Linked DNA regions of Homo sapiens: regions 1, 3, 4 and 5 are each linked to region 2. Evidence: promoter capture Hi-C in human tissues and cell types (Jung and others, 2019). All regions are on one chromosome and are shown on one strand. The core of a region is centred on a gene start or on the middle of the fragment in contact, and the rest is flanking DNA. Distances in the headings are between cores, read along the strand shown. Region 1 overlaps MAST2 (microtubule associated serine/threonine kinase 2). Region 2 holds the start of AKR1A1 (aldo-keto reductase family 1 member A1). Region 3 overlaps MAST2 (microtubule associated serine/threonine kinase 2). Region 4 overlaps MAST2 (microtubule associated serine/threonine kinase 2). Region 5 has its middle 19 kb from the start of LINC01144.

What was found. The method cuts DNA at HindIII sites, captures the fragments that hold promoters and counts their contacts. A contact is called where the count stands out against the background at its distance.
Region 1: a fragment that was not itself captured here is called in contact with the fragment with the promoter of AKR1A1 in region 2 in 1 of the 25 tissues and cell types used here (neural progenitor cells).
Region 3: a contact is called between a fragment that was not itself captured here and the fragment with the promoter of AKR1A1 in region 2, in 1 of the 25 tissues and cell types used here (bladder).
Region 4: a contact is called between a fragment that was not itself captured here and the fragment with the promoter of AKR1A1 in region 2, in 1 of the 25 tissues and cell types used here (adrenal gland).
Region 5: a contact is called between a fragment that was not itself captured here and the fragment with the promoter of AKR1A1 in region 2, in 1 of the 25 tissues and cell types used here (hippocampus).

Annotation. Positions count from the first base shown.
Region 1 is chr1:45,948,031-45,953,162 of GRCh38, reverse strand. The region is part of intron 4 of MAST2 (microtubule associated serine/threonine kinase 2); the gene reads right to left. Among named protein-coding and RNA genes, the nearest start is that of MAST2, 150 kb to the right of the region's middle. The HindIII fragment of the contact is 3,569 bases long and covers 1,724-5,132 here.
Region 2 is chr1:45,548,949-45,553,869 of GRCh38, reverse strand. AKR1A1 (aldo-keto reductase family 1 member A1) reads right to left here and starts at 3,044. Exons shown (of 9, transcript NM_153326.3): 1 at 2,715-3,044. RefSeq lists enhancers at 2,572-2,791, 3,022-3,251, 3,302-3,361. The HindIII fragment of the contact is 19,939 bases long and covers 1-4,921 here.
Region 3 is chr1:45,814,812-45,820,317 of GRCh38, reverse strand. All of the region lies in intron 1 of MAST2 (microtubule associated serine/threonine kinase 2), which reads right to left. Among named protein-coding and RNA genes, the nearest start is that of MAST2, 14 kb to the right of the region's middle. The HindIII fragment of the contact is 3,473 bases long and covers 1,531-5,003 here.
Region 4 is chr1:45,867,669-45,873,326 of GRCh38, reverse strand. All of the region lies in intron 3 of MAST2 (microtubule associated serine/threonine kinase 2), which reads right to left. LOC105378694 (a long non-coding RNA gene) reads left to right here. Exons shown (of 5, transcript XR_001738038.2): 5 at 5,356-5,443. Among named protein-coding and RNA genes, the nearest start is that of MAST2, 67 kb to the right of the region's middle. RefSeq lists a silencer at 5,296-5,590. The HindIII fragment of the contact is 5,380 bases long and covers 1,620-5,658 here.
Region 5 is chr1:45,282,579-45,288,014 of GRCh38, reverse strand. No RefSeq gene overlaps it. Among named protein-coding and RNA genes, the nearest start is that of LINC01144, 19 kb to the left of the region's middle. The HindIII fragment of the contact is 3,771 bases long and covers 2,197-5,436 here.

The DNA of each region.
Region 1 (5,132 bases), core at 2,259-4,758, 400 kb before region 2:
ATTATTCAAGGTTTAATAGGTGTTCTTGTCTCAACAATGTCTAAAGTTAACCAGCACCTCAACTCTCTTTCTGAACAAAATTAAAAGATCCTAGATCGCTTTTAACTCCAATCCTCCCACTCCCTTTCAACTTACCTATTATTACAATCTATTATTTCAGGTCTATCTTACTTTTACATTGCCAAATTAGTAATTATTATTTTATACAATAATTGCTTGCTTAGATTTACTCATGTATTTTCTAATTTCACTGCTTAACATTCCCTCTTGGGATCTCATGTATTTCTTCTTTGTTTCTGAAATATATCCTGTAGTAATTATTTCAGAGAGGATCTGATAGTAATAAATCTTCTCTATAGATTTTGTTCTCTTGGTTTTTGATGGTCTGAAAATGGCTTTTTTTGGTCACTCACTTCCACTGCTAATTTAGCAAGTATGGATAATTCTAGTGTCTTGTTCAGAGTAACTTTTTTCTCAATACTTTAAAAATATTATTCTGTAGTCTTATGGCTCCTGTTATTGCTGTTGAAAAGCTTACTCTTAGCATAAGTGCTGTTCCTTTGTACTTAATTTTTCTTTTTCTGTCTGGTTGCTTTATTTTAACCATTAACTTATTTTTTTAGATATATTTCCAACAATATAAAATTCACCCTTTTAAAATGTACAACTCATTCATTTTTAGTATATTCACAAGGCTGTGCAAGCACTGCCACTATCTAATTCCAGAATATTTTCATTGCCAAAAAGAAACCTTGTACCCATTAGCAGTCATTCTCCATCCCATTCTCCCCACAACCAACCACCAACGTACTGTCTCTATGGATTCACTGTCTCTGTGGACTCTACGTATTCTGGACATTTCACAGAAACTGAATCATACATTATGTAGTCTTTGGCTTCTTTTACTCAGCATGTTTTCATGCATGTTGTGGCATGCATAAATTCTCCATGCCACAATTGTTAATCCTTTCATAAAATGACAAGGTATTTGGGTTGTTACTACTTTTTGGTTATCATAGATGCTGCTGCTGTGAACATTTGTTTACAAGTTTTTGCATGAACATATATTTTCAATTTTCTTGAGTGAACTTTCTTGCTGAGCTCTTTTACTTTAGTGAATTCTTGAGGGTTCTTTAAGATATTCTCTTTGTTTTCATGGCTCTGCAGTACTGCAATGTATCTAGATGGGGATTTATTTTTATTTATTATAGTGGGGACTCACCATGCTTCAAGATGTTCCTTGTTTGTTTCTAATCAGTTCTGGAAGGTCTCAGTCATTATCTCTATGAATACTGCCTCTTCCCATTTCTCCATATTCTGTTGGACCATCTGATCATATCTTCTGTATTTCTTAGCTTTCATTCATAGTTTATATCTTCCCATTTCTGTCTTGCACTCTTGATAAAAATTTTACTTTGTCCACAGCTCTATTATTTAACACGACTGTTGCATTTTCAATTTCAACAACACAATACATATATTTTATTCCTCGAATTCTAATTAGCTTTTTGTCCAAATATATTTGGTCTTTTTTTCTCTTGTTTCTGTTTCCTTCTTTTATATTCTTTTTTGTTTGTTTTGAGACAGGGGATCACTCTGTCACCCAGGTTGGAGTGCAGTGGCTCAATCTCCACTCACTGTTGCCTCTATTTCCTGGGCTCAGGTGATCCTCCCACCTCAGCCTCCAGGGTAGCTGGGGCCACAGGCCCATGCTACCATGCCTGACTAAGTTTTGTATTTTTTGTAGAGACAGGGTTTTACCATATTGTCTGGGATGGTCTTGAACTCCTGGGCTCAAGTGATCCGCCCGTCTTGTCCTCCCAAACTGCTGGGATTACAGGCATAAGCCATCATGTCCAGCCTCCTTCTTTTATATTCTTAATAATTTTAAATATACTAATCTTACAGTCTTAATCTCTAATGTTACTTTGTTTTTCTTTTTGAGACAGGTTCTCACTCTGTCATCCAGGCTAGGGTGCAATGGCACAATCACAGTTCACTGCAGCCTTGACCTCCCTGACACAAGCAATCCTCACCTCAGCCTCCCAAGTAGCTGAGAAAACAAGCATGCACCACCATGCCCAGCTAATTAAAAAAAAAAAAATTTAGTAGAGATGAGACTTCACTATGTTGTTCAGGCTGGTCTTGAACTCCCGGGCTCAAGCGATCCTCCCACCTCAGCCTCCTAAAGTGCTGGGATTACAGGCATGAGCCACCACACTCAGCTAACATTCGTATTTTTTTGTAGAGACAGGGTTTGACCATGTTGCCCAGGCTGGTTTCGAACTCCTGGGCTCAAGCAGTCCACTCGCCTCAGCCATCCAAAGTATTAAGATGAAAGTTGTGAGCCACTGTGCCCACCCTCTAATGCTACTTTCTGAAGTTCCAAACTGTTTCTTTTATCTATTGATTTTCACTTAGGGGAGATTGGTTGGTTGGTTTGTAATTTTGTACTACAAACTTACCTTCAGTGAAGCTGCATTTATGAGAATCCTATGATACCTGATTTGAGGGTATGTCACTTAATAGAAGTGTTAAGTTTGTTTCTGACAGATGAGCCAGAGTTATTACCAGCCCAGAACCAGCTTCTAGACCACACAAAGAGTATAAACTCCAACCCCCAATTTCAGTTAAGTGAAGGCTTACAGGTAGAAATTTTCAAGGGAGACGTCTTTCCTTTATTAAAAGCCCTATTTAAAATCCAGATGAGATTAAGAAAGTTCTTTTTATCTGTACATGCCAGTGGTTTTCCTAGTCCATTCCTGCACTGAGGGTGAAGTCTTTTGAGGGTCCTAATTGTATGTAGGGGGTGTCCATTCTAATTGCTTACACTAAACAAGCCAAGACCTCATCTTTTTTCCCCTCAAGGTTATTGAGACTAGCACATCTCCTCCCTGACCCCATTTTTGGAAGCTTCAAAGCTGGCTCCCACTGTTATTATTATTATTTTTTAGGTTCAGGGGTACATATTCAGGTACATAGGTAAACTCCTGACACAGGGGTTTGTTGTATAGGTTGTTTCATCACCCAGATATTAAGCCTAGCACCCAATAGTTACTTTTCCTGCTCCTCTCCCTCCTCTCTCTCTCCACCCCCAAGTAGACCTCAATGTCTGTTGTTTTCCCTTCTTTGTGTTCATGAGTTATCTTCATTCAGCTCCCACTTATAAGTAAGAACATGCGGTATTTGGTTTCCTGTTCCTGGGTTAGTTTACTTAGGATCGTAGCCTCCAGCTCCATCCATGTTCTCGCAAAAGACATGATCTTGTTCTTTATGGCTGCATAACATTCCATGGTATATATGTACCACATTTTCTTTATCCCATCTATCATTAATGGGCATTTAGGTTGATTCCATGTCTTTGCTAATGTGAATAGTGCTATAATGAACATTCGTGTGCATGTGTCTTTATGGCAGAATGATTTATATTCCTCTGGGTATATACCTAGTAATGAAATTGCTGGGTCAAATGGTACTTCTGCTTTTAGCTCTTTGAGGAATCACCATACTGCTTTCCACAATGGTTGAACTAAATTACACTCCCACCAACAGTGTGTAAGTGTTCCCTTTCCTCCACAACCTTGCCAGCATCTGTTATTTTTTTACTTTTAACAACAGCCATTCTGACTGGTGTGAAATGATAGATCTCATTGTGGTTTTGATTTGCAGTTCTCTAATGCTCGGTGATATTGAGCTTTTTTTCTTATGCTTGTTGGTCGCATGTATGCCTTCTTTTGAAAAGTATCTGTTCACGTCCTTTGCCCACTTTTTAATGGGGTTGTTTTTCTCCTGTAAATTTGTTTAAGTTCCTTATAGATGCTGAATATTAGACCTTTGTCAGATGCAGATTGCAAATATTTTTTCCTATTCTGTAGGTTGTCTGTTTACTCTGTTGATAGTTTCTTTTGTTGTGCAGAACCTCTTAAGTTTAATTAAACTTGTCCATTTTTGCTTTTGTTGCAATCGCTTTTGGTGTCTTTGTCATGAAATCTGCCCATTCCTGTGTCCAGGATGGTACTGCTTAGGTTGTCTTCCAGGGTTTTCATAGTTTTACGTTTAAGTCTTTAACGCATCTTGAGTTGATTTTTGTATATGATGTAAAGGAGGGGTACTATGTAGCTTCAGTCTTCTGCTTATGGCTAGCCAGTTATCCCAGAACCACTTACTGAATAGGGAGTCTTTTCCCCATTGCTTGTTTTTGTCAGCTTTGTCAAAGATCAGGTTATCATAGGTGTGTGGCCTACGATTTTAAAACCCCTGATTTTTAAAATAGGCTCTCTGTTCTGTTCTATTGGTTTATGTCCCTGTTTTTGTACCAGCACCATGCTGTTTTAATTACTGTAGCCCTGTAGTATAGTTTGAAGTCAGCTTTGTTCTCTTTGCTTAGGATTGCCTTGGCGATTTGGGCTCTTTTCTTGTTCCATATGACTTTTTTTTTTTTTTTTTTTTTTTTTTTGAGATGGAGTCTCACTCTGTCGCCCAGGCTGGAATGGAGTGGCATGATCTCAGTCCACTCCAATCTTCACCTCCCAGGTTCAAGCAATTCTCCTGCCTCAGCCTCCCAGGTAGCTGAGACTACAGACACACACCACCACATGCAGCTAATTTTTTGTATTTTTACTAGAGATGGGGTTTCACCATATTAGCCAGGCTGGTCTTGAACTCCTGACCTCATGATCCACCCGCCTTGGCCTCCCAAAGTGCTGGGATTACAGGCGTGAGCCACCGCACCCGGCCCGGTTCCATATAATTTTTTAAATAATTTTTCTAGTTCTGTGAAGAATACTCTTGGTAGTTTGATAGAAATAGCATTCAATCTATAAATTGCTTCAGGCAATATGATCATTTTAATGATATTGATTCTTCCTATCCATGAGCATGGTATGTTTTTCCATTTGTTTGTGTCCTCTCCGATTTCTTTGAGCAGTGTTTTGCAATTCTCATTGTAGAGATCTTTCACGTCTCTGGTTAGCTGTATTCCTAGGTATTTTATTCTTTTTGTGGCAATTGTAAATGGGACTGCCTTCCTGATTTGGCTCTCTCCCTGGCTGCTGTTGGCGGATAGGAATGCTAGTGCTTTCTGCTAGTGATTGATTTTGTATCCTGAAACTTTGCTGAAGTTGTTTATCAGC
Region 2 (4,921 bases), core at 1,795-4,294:
GTGCCCGCTACCATGCCCAGCTAATTTTTTTGTATTTTTTAGTAGAGACAGGGTTTCACCATGTTAACCAGGATGGTCTCGATCTCCTGACCTCGTGATCCGCCCACCTCAGCCTCCCAAAGTGCTGGGATTACAGGCATGAGCCACCACACCCGGCCTCTCCTATACTTCTAGAAAAGCCAGCTTGGAAAATCACCTTACATATGTAATGTTGGCCAGATTTTGTCAGTTTAGCTGGGTTTTAAATCTTGTTAATACTTAATAGCTACAGAAAAAGAGAATGCTCTAATATGTAACCTAAGACCTAAGATTGCAATAATGCTTCCTGTACTTCTTGATGTATGTGAAAAGAATTTTAAAATATATATTCCTAAATCTTTCTCTAGTCCATCCATATCTACCTCCACTGCCACTGCCCCATCTCTGACCACCACCACTCTTTTTTTTTTGAGACAGAGTCTCGCTCTGTCGCCAGGCTGGAGTACAGTGGTGTGATCTCGGCTCACTACAACCTTCGCCTTCCAGGTTCAACCGATTCTCCTGCCTCAGCCTCCCCAGTAGTTGGGACTACAGGCGCATGCCACCACACCCAGCTAATTTTTGTATTTTTAGTAGAGACGGGGTTTCACCATGTTGGCCAGGATGGTCTCCATCTCTTGACCTCGTGATCTGCCCGCCTCAGCCTCCCGAAGTGCTGGTATTATAGGCATAAGCCACTGTGCCCAGCCTTTTTAAATTTTTTTTTGAGACAGAGTCTCACTCTGTTGCCCAGGCTGGAATGCAGTGGCATGATCTCGGCTCACTGCAATCTCTGCTTCCCGGGTTCAAGTGATTCTCCTGCCTCAGCCTCCCCAGTAGCTGGGATTATAGGTGTGTGCCACCACACCCAGCTACTTTTTGTATTTTTAGTACGGAGAGGGTTTCACCATGTTGGCCAGGCTGGTCTCGAACTCCTGACCTCAGGTGATCCACCCACCTTGGCCTCCCAAAGTGCTGGGATTACAGGCATGAGCCACTGTGCCCAGCTGACCATCACTCTTTACTTAAACCACAGATCTTGGCTTCCAGAGTGGTCCCTCTTCCCGCAGTCCATCACCAGATCCAACCATGTGACTCCCAGTCTCAAACCCTTCCAGCAATTCTCCCCTATATTCAGGATAAAGTCCAGGCTTCTCAAAACCTGGCTTCTATCTTTCTCATTTCACCACCTCCTCATGTCAGACTGTATTCCAGACTTTGAACACTCAACAGGGTCACATCACTTACCTGACTCTAGGTGTGTGCACTTTCCTTCCCCAAACCCTACCTTTGCCTGGCTAGCTGCTGCTCATCCTTCAGCTAGCACTTCACATTTCTGGCTCCTTTCCAGGTGCAGTGGCTCATACATGTAATCTCAGCACCTGGGCAGGCTGAGGCGGGAGGATCACTTGAAACCTGGGCAACAAAAGGAAACACTGTCTCTACAAAAATTTGTTTTTTTCTTTCTGAGTCTGCTTGCTAGGGGGAATTTTTTTTTTTTTATTTTAAAGATTAACTGGGCACAGTGGCATGTAGTTTATAGTCCAAAGGCTGAGGTGGCAGGATTATTTGAGCCCAGAAGTTTGAGGCTGCACTGAGCAAGGATTCCACCACTACACTCCAGCATGGGCAAAAGACCGAGAGACCCCCATCCATCTCTAAAAAGAAAATAAATAAATAAATAAATGGATGGCTACTTCCATGTACTGATAGCATGTGCACATCACTACATTTTTCTGTTTATATATAAATTTCCCCCACAAACCTGGCTACTCCTTGAGGTCTGAGCCTGTCATCTGCCTGAACCCCTCACTCCTAGAGTACCTGTCCCATACATACATACATACATACATACATACATACATACATACAATGTACACAATACACACACCACACACACACAGCTTATGGGGGAGAGATCTTGACAGGTTGAGTTTGGCCAGCTGGAAGGACATTTGAGGAAGTCGCTGCCTCTGTCACCTTCTTCCTTTACCTGTTGGAAAACCTGAAAAGAATCCTCTTGGAGAATATCAAAGCACTTTACTATACTCGGCAAAAAATCCCAGTGGACCAGATAGAATCATACTGAGATTGCTCCTGTATTAAAGATAAGGAAACAGATCTTGGAAAAGTAACAGGCCTGCAGCCCTGAGTATGAACGATCTGAAGGGGAAGAGTTAATTAACAGTAGCCTCATCCAGTGAAGGTTCAGATCTGTGTCTTACTTTAACAGAGTTCTGGGGCAACAGAATAACATGTCAGACTTTCTCAGACCCAAAGCAGGTGTCTAAGTAAGAGAATTATCCCCACTTCTCCCCACTTCTGAGAACTATCCCTGCACCTGCATAAGAAAGCCGGAGCAGCTGGAAAAAGCACATAGGTGAGCAAACAAAAAGATGGCAATTAAAACTTGCAGATCACCTAGTATGCGCTGTGCGCCTTCAAAGCTTTATCTCAATTCTTGCTACAGTTCTAATGTAGGACCTCATTTTATTGCTGAGGAAACAGGTTCAGAGAAACTGGGAAGTTAGCAAGAGATCATACAGAGAAAAAGAAGAGCTCAAATCCGAAACCAAGTCTCGTCCCCTCCAGTGCTCTGCGCTCTCCACTCAACCCCAGGGGCTTACATTTCAGTAGTAAAGAATCGAGGCCATCTCCTCCGGGAGAAAGATAGGCCAGCAGCAAGAGAAACTCACCTTGGCACAAGCACAGAGCGTGAATAGGGTACTGTGGCCTGGGCTCAGTTCTGCACCCCGCCAGAGATCCAACGATCCTCAGCTTAAGTCTGGCGGTGAGGGGGAAGTTCCACCCGGAGGGAGGGGCAGGGGCCGGGCATAAAGGATCACGCGCAGGGTGGACCGCCTTCGCCGCCTCCCGAGGAAGGACCTGAAGGGGATGGAAAACAGAGCTGGGAGGTAGTACCGTCTCCACCTCTGGATCCTCGAGGTCGAACTGGCCGGAACTTGGTCACTCACTCCGCAGCGCGGGTTTGGAGAACTCCTGGGCACAATGAGGCAGGTGGCGCTGGCCACGTGGGCGGTGCAAGGGGCGGGGCCAGCCTCGCCTTTTGCTGGCCCACATTGCACCGCGCGCCTAGGCGCCGCCGCAGGCGCTTTTCCGGGGGAAGTAAGGTAGCAGATGCCACGTTGCAGGTTCTTCTGGTGTCGGCCCTCCGGATTCACAATGCCATCCGTGGCTCCATACTCTCCCTAAAGTCAGGTTGGCTGGATTCCCAAAGTTCACCTAAGTTGGCCCCGTTACATTTAGTTCAAGCAAACTGAGGCCCAGAGAGCAGCTGCAACACCAAGATTGGCCAGAATACAGAAGACCTCGCGTCTGCAGATCCAGGCGCTGGAAAGTGCCTGGTCCCCCTGTCTGGACCATAGACCCCGCCCAGCACGTTATGTGCCAGGCACTGTGCTTAACACTTAATAAACATGGTTTTATTGAATCTTCATAATAATCCTGGAAAAGGAATATTCCTTTTTTTTTTTTTTTTTTGAGACGGAATCTCGCTCTCGCCCAGGCTGGAGTGCAGTGGCGCGATCTTGGCTCACTGCAACCTCCGCCTCCCTGGTTCAAGCAATTCTCTGCCTCAGCCTCCCGAGTAGCTGGGATTACAGGCGCCCGATACCACGCCTGGCTAATTTTTTTGTATTTTTTAGTAGAGACGGGGTTTCGCCATCTTGGCCAGGCTGGTCTTGAACTCCTGACCTCGTGATCCACCCGCCCTGGACTCCCAAAGTGCTGGGATTACAGGAGTGAGCCACTGCGCCTGGCCGAAAAGGAATATTCTTTTATTTCGTACAAGCCTTTTTAAAAATCGTAGTATAGCATATATACAGAAAATACACCAGTCTTTTTTTTTTTCTTTTTCTTTTTTTCCTATTCTACATCCAGGAAGAAAGAAAATGTATAAATCTTAAATGTATACAGTTCTTTTTTTTAAATTATTTTTTGCAATGTAACTGCCATCCAGAGGAAGATATTACCAGCACACCATAAGCCTGTGAGGAAAGTATTCATAATCCATTTTACAGATTGGACAGACTCAGCAAGGTTAAGGCTATTTATAATTTTCCCAAAGTCACACAGGTATTAATTAAATGACACATCTGCGATTTGAAATAGTCTGTGCTGTTTGAGTGGAGAGGTGTCTTGCATGTATGTGTTTTCCTTGGCAGGGATGGGCAAGACACAGGGTTATCTCGGTTTGGCTCTGCTTTTCCCCACACCTTTACTCCCTGAGAGCAACTCTTCCCATTTCCCCACCCCCGTTATCCCCCACTGTCTCCCCAACATAAGTGATGTCCTGGTGGACCAAATGTCTAATGTATCAGGCCATCCTCATAAAAACAATCAGACTTGGCCGGGTGCGGTGGCTCACGCCTGTAATTCCAGCACTCTGGGAGGCCGAGGCAGGCGGATCACCTGAGGTCAGGAGTTAGAGACCAGCCTGACCAACATGGAGAATCCCCGTCTCTATTAAAAATACAAAATTAGCCGGGCGTGGTGGCACATGCCTGTAATCCCAGCTACTCGGGAGGCTGAGGCAGGAGAATTGCTTGAACCTGGGAGGCGGAGGTTGTGGTGAGCTGAGATTGCGCCATTGCGCTCCAGCCTGGGCAACAAGAGTGAAACTCCATCTCAAAAAAAAAAAAAAAAAAAATTCAGCTAGGCGTCGTGGCGCGCACCTGTAGTCCCAGATACTCAGGACGCTGAGGCAGGAGAATCGCTTGAACCCGGGAGGCGGAGGTTTCAGTGAGCCGAGATCGAGCCACTGCACTCTAGCCTCTTGACAAAGCGAGACTGCCCCTCAAAAAAAAAAAAAAAAAAAAAAAAAAAAAAAAATTAGCTGGATGTATTGATGCGAGCCTGTAATCCCAGCTACTTGGGAGCCTGA
Region 3 (5,506 bases), core at 2,018-4,517, 270 kb before region 2:
GTATTTATTGCTCAAGAAATTTTTGCCCAAACCAATGTCCTAGCAAGTTTCCCCAAAGTTTTCTTTTAGTAGTTTCAGAGTTTGCAGTTTAAGATTTAAATCTTTAATACATTTTTGATTTTTGTATATGGGAAGAGATAGGGATCTAGTTTCACTCTTCTGCATGTAGATATCTGCATATAGATTTCCAGTTTTCCGAGAACCATTTATTGTACAGACTGTCCTTTTACCAAAGTATGTTCTTGGCACCTCTGTCAAAAACCAGTTCACTGTAAATGTATGGATTTATTAATGGGTTCTCTATTCCGTTCTATTGGTCTCTGTTTGTTTTTATGTCAGTACCATGTTGTTTTGGTTACCATAGCTTTCTAGTATCATTTCAAGTCAGGTAATGTCATTTCTCCAGTTTTCTTCTTTATGTTGAAGATAGCTTTGGCTATTCTGAGTCCTCTGTGGTTCCACGTAAATTTTAGAATTGTTTTTTCTATTTTTGTGGAGAATGTCATTGGTATTTTGAATATGGATTGTATTGAATCTGTAGATTGCTTTGGGTACTATGGACATTTTAATAGTGATTTTTCCAATCCATGAACATGAAATATCTTTTCATTTTTTTAATGTCCTCTTCAATTTCTTGCATCAGTGTTTAATAGTTTTCATTAGAGAGATCTTTCATCTCTTTGGTTAATCCCTAGGTATTTTATTTGCAGCTACTGTAAATGGGGTTACTTTTTTGATTTTTTCAGATTGTTCACTGTTGGCATACAGAAACACTACTGATCTCTGTGTGTTGACTTTGGATCCTGCAACTTTACTAAATTTATCAGTTCTAATAGTTTTTTGGTGAAGTCTTTAAGCTTTTGCCAAATATAAGATCAAATCATCTGCAAACAAGGATAATTTGACTTCTTTTCCAATTTGGATACCCTTTATTTCTTTTTCTTGTCTAATTACCATAGTTAAGACTTCCAGTACTACTAGGTTGGTACAAACGTAATTGCGGTGGTTTGCATGATTAGAATTTGTCATCTGATATTGGAATACATTCTTTTTTTTTTTTTTTTTGAGACAGACTTTGCTCTTGTTGCCCAGTCTGGAGTGCAATGGCATGATCTCGGCTCACTGCAACCTCTGCCTCCTGGGTTCAAGCGATTCTCCTGCCTCAGCCTCCCAAGTAGCTGGGATTACAGGTGTGTGCCACCATGCCTGGCTAAGTTTGTATTTTTAGTAGAGACAAGGTTTCACCATGTTGGTCAGGCTGGTCTCGAACTCCTGAACTCTGGTGATCCACCCACCTCAGCCTCCCAAAGTGCTGGGATTACAGGCATGAGCCACTATGCCCGGTCTTGGAATACATTCTTAAATAAATGTCATTATATTATACATCATTTTAATGTTCATTTTTTATGTTTTTTGGCTAGAGACTTATTTACTTGCTGTTTATGTTTTAGACTATGGGAATGAAGTTAGATAAAAAGCAAATATGAGCAATTTTTGAATAAGTTCAAAATGGGTCGTAAAGCAAAGGAGACAACTCACAACATCAACAATGCATTTGGAGAGGAACTGCTAACAACTGTACAGTGCAGTGGTGGTTCAAAAAGTTTTGCAAAGGAGGCAAGCCTTGAAGGTGAGGAGTGTAGTGGCCGACCATCGGAAGTTCACAACGACCAATTGTGAGCAATCATCTCTTAGAACTACACAAGAAGTTGCCGAAGAACTCAACATCGACCATCCTACAGTCATTCAGCATTTGAAGCAAATCGAAAAGGTGAAAAAGCTCGTTAAGTGGGTGCCTCATGAGCTGAGTGAAAATCAAATAATCATCATTTTGAAGTGTCATCTTCTCTTATTCTACAGAACAATGAACCACTTCTCGATCACACTGTGACATGCAAGGAAAAGTGGACTTTATATGACAACCTGTGACAACCAGCTCAGTGGCTGGACTGAGAAGAAGCTCCAAAGCACTTCCCAAAGCCAAACTTGCATCAAATAAAGGTCACGGTCACTGTTTGGTGGTCTGCTGTCAGTCTGATCCACTACAGCTTTCTGAACCCCAGTGAAAGCATAACATCTGAGAAGTATGCTCAGCAATCTTAATGAGATGCACCAAAAACTGCAACGCCTGACACCAGCATTGGTCAACAAAAAGGACCCAATTCTCCACAACAACACCCAACTGCACATCACACAACCAAGCTTCAACAAGTGAACGAATTGGGCTATGAAGTTTTCCCTCCCGCCATATTCACCTAACCTCTCACCAACCAACTACCACTTCTTCAAGCATCTCGACAACGTTTTGCAGAGAAAACATTTCCATGACCAGCAGGATGCAGAACATTCTTTCCAAGAGTTCGTCAAATCCCAAAGCATGGATTTTTACACAACAAGAACAAACATTTCTCATTGGCGAAAATGTGTTGATTGTAATGGTTCCTATTTTGATTAATAAAGATGTGTTTGAGCCTAGTTATAATGATTTAAAATTCACAGTCCAAAACCACAATTACTTTTGCAACAACCTAATACCATACTATGTCTGGAAAAGTTGTTGTAGTTATTATTCTTGATCAATTCATCTTTTCATGATATGAGTCGTTTATACACCATAATTATTGTTATTAATATAGTATTCTGTGTTTTTCTGTGTACTTACTATTACCAGTCAGTTTTGTACCTTCAGATGATTTCTTATTGCTCATTAACATCCTTTTCTTTCAGATTGAAGAACTCCCTTTAGCATTTGTGTGGGACAGGTCTGGTGTTGATGAAATTACTCGACTTCTCTGTCTTATGAAGTCGTTATTTCTCCTTCATGTTTGAAGAATATTTTCACCAGATATACTATTCTAGGGTAGAAGTTTTTTCCTTCAGCACTTTAAATATGTCATGCCTCTCTCTCTTGGCCTGTAAGGGGTTTCCACTGAAAAGTCTGGTCCCAGACATATTGAAGCTCCATTGTATGTTATTTGTGTTTTTTCTCTTACTGCTTTTAGGATCCTTCATCTTTTACCTTTAGAAGTTTGATTATTAAATGCCTTGAGATAGTCTTCTTTGGGCTAAATCTGCTTGGCATTCTAGAACCTTATACTTGAATATAGAAATCTTTCTCTAAGTTTGGGAAGTTCTCTGTTGTTATTCATTTCGATAAACTTTCTACCCCTATCTCTCTACCTCCTCTTTAAGGCCAAAACGCTTAGATTTGCCTTTTGGAGGCTATTTTCTAGATCTTGTAGGCATGCTTTTTATTCCTTTTTATCTTTTTCTTCTTTTGTCTCCTCTGGCTGTGTATTTTCAAATAGCCTGTCTTCGAGCTCACTAATTCTTTCTTCTGGGGCCAGGCACTGTGGCTCACGCCTGTAATCCCAACACTTTGGGAAGCCGAGGCAGGTGGATCACGAGGTCAGGAGATCGAGACCATCCTGGTTGACACGGTGAAACCCCGTCTCTACTAAAAAACAAAAAAATTAGCCAGGTGTGGTGGCACACACCTGTAATCCCAGCTACTTGGGAGGCTGAGCCAGGAGAATCGCTTGAACCTGGGAGGCAGAGGTTGCAGGGAGCCATTACGCCACTGCACTACAGCCTGGGCAACAGAGCGAGACTCCATCTCAAAAAATAAATAAATAAATAAATTCTTTCTTCTGCTTAATCAGTTCTGCTATTAAAGGACTCTGATGCATTCCTTAGTATATCAACTGCATTTTTCAACTCCAAAATTTCAGCTTGGTTCTTTTTAATTATTTCCATTTCTTTGCTGAAGTTACCTTAGGGGATTCTGATTTCCTTATCTGTGTTATCCTGTATTTCTCTGAATTTCCTCAAAATGGGTATTTTGAATTCTCTGTCTGAAAGGTCATGTATCTCTATCTCTCCAGGATTGGTCCCTGGTGCCTTACGTAGTTTGTTTGGTGATGTCATGTTTTCCTGAATGGTCTTAACGCTTGTGGGTATTTGTCAGTGTCTGGGCATTGAAGAGTTAAATATACATTGTAGCCTTTGCGATCTGGGCTTGTTTGCATCTGTTATTCTTGGGAAGACTTTCCAGGTATTTGAAGGGACTTGGGTCTCTCTCTCTCTCTCTCTCTCTTTCTCTCTCTCTCTCCCCCCCACCCCCAATACCAAGCTGCCTTTCTTGGGGTTGCCAGAGACTACCTCTGCCACAGGCTGCAGAAAAGCTTTTCCAGATCTCCTATCTGTGCTTGGGAAAAAGGCCTTTACTTGCATTCAAAATTGTTATAACTCAAAACTCTGTGTGTCTACAAGGAAAAAGAGGAGGCTATGGTTCCAGGCTGTCTATAACCAAAATAAATGGATTTCTGTATGGTTCTAAGCTAAGGACTACATTGGGGTTTGAGTCCTGTGGCAGGGACTAGTTAGATGTTGATCAAGCATGATTCACCTTCCTCCTAGGCACAGGCCACATGACATTTCCCAGCCCTCCAGTAGTTAGGCATGGCCCTGAAACTGAGTTCTGGCAATGGAATATGAGTGGAAGTGATTAATCCATTTCTAGGATTGGCCCATCCTCCACTTTCCTCAGCTGAACTTGGAAGCCATGTGTAGAAAATGGAAGCACCTCAATCAAGGGGTCCTTGTGAATCAGTTACAGCAAGTAATGTTCTTTAATATAAAAGACCAAAGACTGAGCTAGTCACAAAGTATCACTTTCTCTTACTGGTTAAAGGTAGAACTTAAATGTTCCTGGGTCATTTAAACAAAAATCACCTTGGTAACACCCCTATGAAATAACTTAAGGACTTTAAAAAAAAACTATTAACAACTATTTCTAAATCCTCTGCTTTTCAAAACATTCCTGAAAGCCTAACAGATAGAAAGTCTGACCAGTCACGGTGGCTCACACCTGTAATCCCAGCACTTAGGGAGGCTGAGGAGGGTGGATCACCTGAGGTCAGGAGTTCAAGACTAGCCTGCCCAACATGGTGAAACCCCATCTCTACTAAAAACATAAAAATTAGCTGGGTGTGATGGCATGTGCCTGTAGTCCTAGCTACTCAGGAGGCTGAGACAGGAGAATCACTTGAACCTGGGAGGCAGAGGTTGCAGTGAACCGAGATCACGCCATTGCACTCCAGACTGGGAGACAGTTTCAAAAAAAAAAAAAAAGAAGATCTGACAAAACTATATTACTTCTGCTTTGCTGAAATAACGGCAAAGAAACGATGTAGCTTATTAATCTCCAACAAATTAATGGTTAAAGGATATATGCATCTACTACTCAGGTTCACTCTTAAGGAACCTACACTCAAGCTGGTACAACTAAGATGGTATCACCTAATTTTAACACATGGTTCCCTTGGGCTGAATTTTTCTTAATTACATTCTAAAACCTAGGGAGACTATTCTATCTTCTAAGCCAGTTACTTAATAAAAAAATCCATAAAAGTTTCCCTGAAGGGGAAAATGCACAAATTAAAGTCTCCTTTCAAGCTGAATAAAATAAAAGAACAGTTTAATAACACCAACAAATCAAAGGTCA
Region 4 (5,658 bases), core at 3,060-5,559, 320 kb before region 2:
CAACTATTCAGGGGACCGAGGTGGGAGGATCGCTTGAGACCAGAGGTGAAGGTTGCAGTGAGCCAAGATCATGCTACTGGACTCCAGCCTGGGTGACAGAGCAAGACCCTGTCTCAAAAAAGAGAAAAAAAAAAAAATAGGAAGAAGAAACTGCATTTTTCTAATCTAACCCACCAGTAGCGAAGCTCTAAAGCTAAGTGATAAGATGCTATTCTCTAAAAACTAACCCCACCCCCAATACTCCATCCCTATCACTCCACCCCAAATATTCAAGGTATATTGTTTTAACAGTCTCCAAAATTTTATTACCATTTGGACCCTCAAATTGATACACTTTGATACTTTCTGCCAATGATGATATTTCCCAAAGAACTTTAAGTAATGTTTGACTATATTGAACAAAATAAAAGATATTAAACTATATTCTGAAGTTACAAAGAAAGTTATACATACTAAATCCTAGAGAAATAACCAGTCACTCTCTTTCATTGTCCACAAAGCAAACTTCTAAAGGTATTAAATAAAACATGAAATGGTGCTATTCATGGCCAGGCGTGGTGGCTCACGCCTGTAATCCAAGCACTTTGGGAGGCCGAGGCTGGTGGACCACCTGAGGTCGGGAGTTTGAGACCAGCCTGACCAACATGGAGAAACCCCGTCTCTTCTAAAAATAAGAAAATTAGCAGGGCGTGGTAGCGCATGCCTGTAATCACAGCTACTCAGGAGGCTGAGGCAGGAGAATCTCTTGAACCCAGCAAGTGGAGGTTGCGGTGAGCCGAGATTGCCCCATTGCACTCCAGCCTGGGAAGCAAGAGCAAAACTCCGTCTCAAAAAAAAAAAAAAACCACGAAATGGTGCTATTCCCACAGATGAGGATTCACTGCCTATATGCACTACTCATTATTCACAATGACTAAAGCCATAAAATATTTCCAAAGAAAAGACAAAGGCCAAGTGTCCAAAGGCAGTAACCGCTACCCCCACAAGTAAATATGCAAGCCAGGAGTCACAAGGCTGGTCCTTGTCCTTTATGTCAACAGTCACCAGCGTGGAGATGACTATGGGTCAAAGCTGTCTATGCCTGAGGCAACTCCCTCCCTGGGACTCAGCCTGGCTCATTTGCTATTGAATTCTCACACTATACGTATATTGATCCCTACTGCAGTAGCAGCACTCTTTCCAGAGAAGGAAATTAACAGACTCTAAGAAACATAACCCAATAATCCACTCCATTGGAAGTGGATAGAGAATTGGGTTTTGGAGACAATAACTTTTCAACTAACATTTAAAATCAACGAGGCAAGGTGCTGTGGCTCACGCCTGTAATCCCAACACTTTGGGAGGCCACGGTGGGAGGATCACTTGAGCCCAGAGTTTGAGACCAGCCTAGGTAACATAGTGAGAACTCAAGAAAAACAAACAAATCAATGATGAAAAAAAGGTATTCTCTGCCACTAAAATATTATATGTCTCTTGATATAACTCATAATTAAACCCACATAATGTAACTAACATAAATAACACTGCTTGGGCTTAGGGTAGGAGTGGTGAACATTCTAGGGCCTACTCAGAATCCACTGCTGATGACAATACCATTGTCAAAGGACAAAATTACAACAGATTTAGTTTAAAGATCAAACTGACTTTCAGTTTAAAGATCAAACTGACTTTTGTTTGCAATTCTGTAACATCTCATTCTTAAAAATAGAATGCGTGTTCTGCTGAGCTAAGCAGAGGGGGCTGGCTTTCTAAGCAGAAAATGGGTTAAGAAAGCACAAACAGGGAACAAAAAGCAGATTATTCATTACAAAGTGACTCTCCTTATAGAGTTAAAACAGAACTTTCTTATCATGCTAGCTCAGGTAAACTGGGTCACCTCTGGTTACAGTGAATTTCATGGTTTTGTTGTTGTTTTTTAAACTGGCCTGTTTCAGTTCAGTTTGATTACATGGCCAAATAAGTTTGGGGGAGGTAATAAGAGACATGGAGTGCTTGTAGTGTTCAGGAGGGGGTTAAAGTTTGAATTTGTTCTAACACACCAGTAGAAATAGAAAAAGAAAATAAGAAAAAAAACTCTACCAATATTTTTAAAGGGTAAAAAAAAAAGGGGACAGTAAGGCATAGAGATGTAGGATATGGAATACAAAAAATAATATGGCACAAACAAGTCCAAATATATCATTAATCATAATAAATGTACACAGACAAACTTTTCATTACAAACAGGACTTTTTTTTTTTTTTTTTAAAGAAAACCTACTGTATGCCATTTGCAAGAGATATACCAAAAGCAAACTGATATGAAAAGGCTGAAATAAAGGGATAGTTGGTTTCTGGAAAAACTAACAACAACAAAAAAAATCTTCCATGAATTTTTGTTGTTGTTATTTTAATTTTTTTTGAGACACGGTCTTGCTGTCACCCAGGCTGGAGTACAGGGGCACAATCATGGCTCACGGCAGCATCGACCTCCTAGGCTCAAACGATCCTCCCACTTTAGCTTCCCAAATAGCTGGAACTACAGGTGTGCACCGCCACGCCTGGCTACTTAAATTTTTTTTTTTTTTAATTTGTACAGACATCTCACCATGTTGCCCAAGCTGGTCTCCAGCTCCTGGGCTCAAGTGATTCACCCACCTGGCACTCTCAAAGTGCTGGGATTATAGGCATGAGCCACTGTACTCGGCATTCCACTGATACTTGATAATGAAAAAAAAGAGTCTTAATACCCAATATTAGAAATACAAAGAGAAACAGAAGAACAAATCAGCAAAGGTTTAAAAGAACAAAAATTTTATATATATATATATATAAACAAATTGATCTCAATAAATAACAAAATAAACAAAATGGACAAACTCTTAAAAACATATACCTTACCAAAACTACCTCAAGATGAAAAGTAGGAAACTTACATTATATACATGAGCATTTTAAAAAACTGAATCATACATTATTCCTGAGTTGGGTTTACCAACAAAATGTGAATGTGGTTATACAATAAAAAATTCACAAATGTTATATACCTCAAATAAATTGAGAAAAAATAAAACAATATCAGATGATACAGAAAGGCATGTCAAACAGGTATACAAAGAATCAAAAGCTGGGCGCAGTAGCTCATGCCTGTAATCCCAGCACTTTGGGAGGCCAAGGTGGGCAGATCACCTCAGGTCAGGAATTCGAGACTAGCCTGGCCAACATGGCAAAAGCCTGTCTCTACTAAAACTACAAAAATTAGCCAGGCATGGTGGCAGGAACCTGTGATCCCAACTACTCAGGAGGCTGAGGCTGGAGAATCGCTTGAACCCAGGAGGCGGAGGTTGCAGTGAGCCAAGATTGCACCATTGCACTCCAGCCTGGGTGACAAGAGCAAAACTCTGTCTCAAAAACAAACAAACAAACAAACAAACAAAAGAATCACAGGAACAGAGATCTTCAAGACTTTAGAAAAAGGAAAGGGAGAGAGCTAAAAAAAGGTGGAGGTCTTTACATTGAGAAACAAATGGTGCAAACTCAAATGCTTTAATAAGCCAGTAAGGTAATATACTGTACTTTATCAAATCTGAAAAACTATCAATTGCAAAAGACACTGTTATTTTTTGTAACAGTAAGAAACATTTTTTAAAATGCAAAACAAAAATAAGCCTGGCCAATTAACGTATAACACACCATCAAGAGTAACACCGCTATTTCAAAGCTGTTATAAAGTAAAAAGATGTGAGCCTTAGAATAGATGAAATTCAGTAAATACATAAAGCAGCAGAGGATAAAACAAAAGGGGACTGATAGAGACTATGTTGGTTGATTTTTCTTTAAATCTCCAAAGGTGGCTAAATAAAATATATCTACAGGAAACAGTCACCAGACCACCAATTTGTGATCTAGATTTACACAGAGAACACCAGAATTTAATTCAGAGGTGATCAAGGGATGTAACTGTAAATCACTGTAAGATTTCTGAATCAAACAGTTCCCTCTACAGAATACATGGCATCTACAGGAATGTATTGTTAACACAGACTCCAGATAGCCAAGGAACTCTAAAGATCTGAGGCTGGACTGATTATCCTTGTCTACAAAGATACTGGAGTTACCCATAATGACTATAATATTTGAAAATTAGGTACTCAGGTTTTAACTGCATGGGGATTATCAGAAGGTTGATAGGTAGAAAAGGAGGATAAAACCACTCAGGAATGGGGGGAATGTCAGAAAAAAATGACTATGAAAAAAACAAACAAAGGTACAAGACTGGTGTAGCTGCAACATAGAATAGGAATACATGAGTCAGGGCAAAGAAGAGGGACAAGAGTGAGATAAATTCCTTAACCTTCAAAGCCATCTAATTTACTGACTTGATGAAAATATCTTAGTGGTACTAAAAACTGAAGAGTACAAACTGAAATGTTTCTTTTATCAAGCTTCCCACAGAAAAGAACAAGGAAATGTAGAACAACAGAAGCAAATAATTAGGTTACATTTTTATCCATGTCATCAGCCTTTTTAAAATGAAATTTCAAGAAGAAATTGAATGTTTGAAATCTACCTGGTTCTTGAAGATTTTGTTTTTAAAGACTAAAAATTAGCTGAATCACATTTTGTAAGATGACCATAATTTATGACAGTCATAATTTGCAAAATAAAAAAAGTCCCAAGGCTTTCTCAATAATAATGCTTCCCAGTATGCATTATGTTGTCATATATCCTCCAAAATAATTAAGTACCCGTAAACAATGACACTCTAAGTACTCTCGTTTTTGAACAGCAAAGGCAAAAAGCAAGCAGGGGGTTGGGGGGGGTGCATAAAAATACTATACAATTTAGTTTTTGCCTGAAGGCAATAATTTTATCAGCACAACAAATATTTTCAATTCAGAACCTGGGAAATTGCACTGTCTATACAATGAAGACAGATTACTATATGTGCCTTATGGGCAAATAATGTGGAAATTATGGCACTAAGAGAGTTGATAACAAAAATTTGCTTATGGTGGCTAGTCCCTGACCTTTCAAAGTTAAAATCATCCCCCATAAAGTTGATTGGGAAACAGGGCAAGTATAAAAGCACCTCCTTCAATTCACAAGGAACTTCAATCTCAAATGTCTCTCCATGTGTAGATGCTTCAAAAGTAGATGTAAGATGAAAGCCAATTTTTACCACAAAAAAGACCCAACTTGAACAGCTTTTCAAGCAAAACAGTGTCAATTCCTACACCGACAGAGGCTCCTCCAGTGTAAAGAAAAGATGCTCACACATAATCTCCCAGATGTCCTTTTACCATTAAGATGTAGGGATGTTGTAGTGTGTGACTGTGCAGACTGAAACTGCTACAGTTCTTTTTCTAACACATAGGAAGCAAGCTTGAGAATGAGGCCAAAACACAGAGGAAGGCAAAAGAGCAATGAAGCTGAGCAAATACACCAGACTACCCAACTCTGAAACCCATCCAACCTCTGGACTTCATTGTTGTGAGTCAATACATTTACCTAACATTTAAACCACTCAGAGTCAAAATTTCTGTTACTTGTAGTTCAGAGTACCCTAACCTATACATCTAGCCTGGCCATACACCTACTTGTCTGTCCTTGAGGAAGCTACTGAGCTTCACGTATCTGTAAAAATGGCCAATAAGAAAGTCCTCCACATCGTCCACTG
Region 5 (5,436 bases), core at 2,833-5,332, 270 kb after region 2:
TATTCAATTTCTTCCTAGTTTAGTCTTGGGAGGGTGTATATATCGAGGAATTTATCCATTTCTTCTAGATTTTCTAGTTTATTTGCGCAGAGGTGTTTATAGTATTCTCTGATGGTAGTTTGTATTTCTGTGGGATTGGTGGTGGTATCCCCTTTGTCATTTTTTATTGTGTCTATTTGATTCTTCTCTCTTTTCTTCTTTATTAGTCTTGCTAGCAGTCTATCAATTTTGTTGATCTTTTCAAAAAACCAGCTCCTGGATTCACTGATTTTTTGAAGGGTTTTTTGTGTCTCTATTTCCTTCAGTTCTGCTCTGATCTTAGTTATTTCTTGCCTTCTGCTAGCTTTTGAATGTGTTTGCTCTTGCTTTTCTGGTTCTTTTAATTGTGATGTTAGGGTGTCTATTTTAGATTTTTCCTGCTTTCTCTTGTGGGCATTTAGTGCTATAAATTTCCCTCTACACACTGCTTTGAATGTGTCCCAGAGATTCTGGTATGTTGTGTCTTTGTTCTTGTTGGTTTCAAAGAACATCTTTATTTCTGCCTTCATTTCATTATGTACCCAGTAGTCATTCAGGAGCAGGTTGTTCAGTTTCCATGTAGTTGAGAGGATTTGAGTGAGTTTCTTAATGCTGAGTTCTAGTTTGATTGCACTGTGGTCTGAGAGACAGTTTGTTATAATTTCTGTTCTTTTACATTTGCTGAGGAGTGCTTTACTTCCAACTATGTGGTCAATTTTGGAATAGGTGTGGTGTGGTGCTGAGAAGAATGTATATTCTGTTGATTTGGGGTGGAGAATTCTGTAGATGTCTATTAGGTCTGCTTGGTGCAGAGCTGAGTTCAATTCCTGGATATCCTTGTTAACTTTCTGTTTCGTTGATCTGTCTGATGTTGACAGTGGGGTGTAAAAGTCTCCCATTATTATTGTGTGGGAGTCTAAGTCTCTTTGTAGGTCACTAAGGACTTGCTTTATGAATCTGGGTGCTCCTGTATTGGGTGCATATATATTTAGGATAGTTAGCTCTTCTTGTTGAATTGATCCCTTTACCATTATGTAATGGACTTCTTTGTCTCTTTTGATCTTTGTTGGTTTAAAGTCTGTTTTATCCGAGACTAGGATTGCAACCCCTGCCTTTTTTTGTTTTCCATTTGCTTGGTAGATCTTCCTCCATCCCTTTATTTTGAGCCTGTGTGTGTCTCTGTACGTGAGATGGGTTTCCTGAATACAGCACACTGATGGGTCTTGACTCTTTATCCAATTTGCTAGTCTGTGTCTTTTAATTGGAGCATTTAGCCCATATACATTTAATGTTAATATTGTTATGTGTGAATTTGATCCTGTCATTATGATGTTAGCTGGTTATTTTGCTCGTTAGTTGATGCAGTTTCTTCCTAGCCTTGATGGTCTTCACAATTTGGCATGTTTTTGCAGTGGCTGGAAGTGGTTGTTCCTTTCCATGTTTAGTGCTTCCTTCAGGAGCTCTTTTAGGGCAGTCCTGGTGGTGACAAAATCTCTCAGCATTTGCTTGTCTGTAAAGTATTTTATTTCTCCTTCACTTATGAAGCTTAGTTTGGCTGGATATGAAATTCTGGGTTGAAAATTCTTTTCTTTAAGAATGCTGAATATTGGCTCCCACTCTCTTCTGGCTTGTAGAGTTTCTGCCGAGAAATCAGCTGTTAGTCTGATGGGCTTCCCTTTGTGGGTAACCCGACCTTTCTCTCTGGCTGCCCTTAACATTTTTTCCTTCATTTCAACTTTGGTGAATCTGATAATTATGTGTCTTGGAGTTGCTCTTCTTGAGGAATATCTTTGTGGCATTCTCTGTATTTCCTGAATTTGAATGTTGGCCTGCCTTGCTAGATTGGGGAAGTTCTCCTGGATAATATCCTGCAGAGTGTTTTCCAACTTGGTTCCATTCTCCCCATCACTTTCAGGTACACCAATCAGACATAGATTTGGTCTTTTCACATAGTCCCATATTTCTTGGAGGCTTTGTTCGTTTCTTTTCATTCTTTTTTCTCTAAACTTCTCTTCTCACTTCATTTCATTCATTTGATCTTCCATCACTGATACCCTTTCTTCCTCAGTATCCGAATCGGATACTGAGGCTTGTGCATTGATCACGTAGTTCTCATGCCATGGTTTTCAGCTCCATCAGGTCCTTTAAGGACTTCTCTGCATTGGTTATTCTAGTTAGCCATTTGTCTAATTTTTTTAAAAGGTTTTTAACTTCTTTGCCTTGGGTTCGAACTTCCTCCTTTAGCTCGGAGTAGTTTGATCGTCTGAAGCCTTCTTCTCTCAACTCGTCAAAGTCATTCTCCATCCAGCTTTGTTCCTTTGCTGGTGAGGAGCTATATTCCTTTGGAGGAGGAGAGGCGCTCTGCTTTTTAGAGTTTCCGGTTTTTCTGTTCTGTTTTTTCCCCATCTTTGTGGTTTTATCTACCTTTGGTGTTTGATGATGGTGACGTACAGATGGGGTTTTGGTGTGGATGTCCTTTCTGTTTGTTAGTTTTCCTTCTAACAGTCAGGACCCTCAGGTGCAGGTCTGTTGGAGTTTGCTGGAGGTCCACTCCAGACCCTGTTTGCCTGGGTATCAGCAGCGGAGGCTGCAGAACAGCTGATATTGGTGAACAGCAAATGTTGCTGCCTGATCATTCCCCTGGAAGTTTTGTCTCAGAGGAGTACCCGGCCGTGTGAGGTGTCAGTCTGCCCCTACTGGGGGGTGCCTCCCATTTAGGCTATTTGGGGGTCAGGGAACCACTTGAGGAGGCAGTCTGTCTGTTCTCAGATCTCAAACTCCGTGCCGAGAGAACCACTACTCTCCTCAAAGCTTTCAGACAGGGACATTTAAGTCTTCAGAGGTTTCTGCTACCTTTTGTTTGGCTATGCCCTGCCCCCAGAGGTGGAGTCTACAAAGGAAGGCAGGCAGGCCTCCTTGAGCTACAGTGGGCTCCACCCAGTTCGAGCTTCCTGGCCGCTTTATCTACTCAAGCCTCGGCAATGGCAGGTGCCCCTCCCCCAGCCTCGCTGCTGCCTTGCAGTTTGATCTCAGACTGCTGTGCTAGCAATGAGGGAGGCTCTGTGGGTGTAGGACCCTCCCAGCCAGGCGCAGGATATATTCTCCTGGTGTGCCGTTTGCTAAGACCGTTGGAAAAGCACAGTATTAGGGTGGGAATGACCCGATTTTCCAGGTGCCGTATGTCACCCCTTTCTTTGACTAGGAAAGGGAATTCCTTGACCCCTCGCACTTCTCGGGTGAGGCGATGCCTCGCCCTGCTTCAGCTTATGCTCAGTGCACTGCACCCACTCTCCTGCACCCACTGTCCAACACTCCCCAGAGAGATGTACCCGGTACCTCAGTTGGAAATGCAGAAATCACCCGTCTTCTGTGTTGCTCACACTGGGAGCTGTAGACGGGAGCTGTTCCTATTCGGCCATCTTGGCTCCACCAACCAGTGTCATTAACTTTAAAAAAGATGGTCAAAAGAGAAGTAGGGGTAGTTCTTGACTTAATTACAACCTGTAATTTTGTACATTACACTTTGATATCTCTAAATAAAGCTTTTTTTTTTTTGGGATGGAGTCTGGCTCTGTCGCCCAGGCTGGAGCGCAGTGGCACGATCTCTGCTCACTGCAAGCTCCGCCTCCTGGGTTCACGCCATTCTCCTACCTCAGCCTCCCAAGTAGCTGGGACTAGAGGCACCTGCCAACACGGCAGGCTAATTTTTTTGTATTTTTTTTTTTAGTAGAGATGGGGTTTCACTGTGTTAGCCAGGATGGTCTTGATCTCCTGACCTCGTGATCCACCTGCCTCAGCCTCCCAAAGTGCTGGGATTACAGGCATGAGCCACTGCACCCGGCCTAAATAAAGCATGTTGAATGTTTGCACATCTGCTGATAAGTGAACATTTTTATCTCATACTGTGCTAAGCAATTCTGGTTTTGCCAACTTTGTCAGTACAAGATGATTTGTACAGCTATTTGATTTTTTTGTGCATTTTACTGGTATTTTATATAAATAAGTGGGAAATGGAAAAATGAAGTTGCTGATAGTGGTGACAAAATGCATATTTTATAAATTTATTACAATTGAGATCCAATAGCCACCATTAAGTTATGCTGAAAATGCTGACTCTTCATGCTAATTTGGATGCCCATTGGTGTTTATTCAGTTCATTCTGTGTTGATTTGCAAGGGAAAAAAATTAAAGAACATGTACTCATACAACCTAATAGTGAGAAAACAATAACTAAATTTAAAAATGGGCAAAGGAGTCTGGGCACAGTGGCTGTTGCCTGTAATCCCAGAACTTTGGGAGACTGAGGTGGGAAGATCGCTTGAAGCCAGGAGTTTGAGACCAGCTTGGGCAACATAGTGAGACCCTGTCTCTATAAAACACAACCCCCCCTTTTTTTTTTTTAGATGCAGTCTCGCTCTGTTGCCCAGGCTGGAGTGCAGTGGCGCCATCTCAGCTCACTGCAAACTCCACCTCCCAGATTCAAGCGATTCTCCTGCCTCAGCCTCCCAAATAGCTGGGATTACAGGCACACACTACCATGCCCAGCTAATTTTTGTATTTTTAGTAGAGACACGGTTTTACCATGTTGGCCAGGCTGGTCTCAGACTCCTGACCTCAAGTGAGCTGCCTGCATAGACCTCCCAAAGTGCTATGATTACAGGCGTGAGCCACAGTGCCTGGCCTCTACAAAAAAAAATTTAAAAAATTTGTCAGACATGGTGGCATGTGTCTGTAGTCCTAGCTACTCAGGAGGCTGAGGCAGGAGCATCACTAGAGCCCAGGAGTTCAAGGTTGCAGTGAGCTATGATCGCAGCACTCTAGCTTGGGTAACAGAGGGAAACCCTATCTCAAAATCAAAAAAAGAAAGAAAGAAGAAAGAAAGAAAGAGAGAGAGGAAGGAAGGAAGGAGAAAAAGAAAGAAAGAAAGAAAGAAAGAAAGAAAGAAAGAAAGAAAGAAAAAGAAAGAAAGAAAAGAAAAGAAAAAGGAAATTGTAAACTTTGTGAAAACACTTCAAAATGTTTTTTATAAAATACTGAAAAGGGAAACAACAAAAATGACCAATATGTTAGGGGTTAAACATATGACATTTTCTAGAAGATTGGGGCTGATGAAATATTTACTTTGCTAATCTGCAATGTATATGGGAATGCTATGGGAAAATAGCATTAGAATCAACAACACAAATAATTATTAAAGTATTAGTGCCATAGTGCATAGTTACCTGTTTTTACCTTAAGACCACATCTCGATAAATGTGAGCATTCCTTTCTCTAAATTTGCTACTTACGATGTGAAAGCAGCTCTTTTCCAAATGATCTAGAGTATAATTTTTAAGAAATCAGAAGAATTGTGTTGTTAGCTATTAGCTACTATTGAAGCTATTTCACTTGCAAAGGAAGGAAAGCAAACCCACAAAT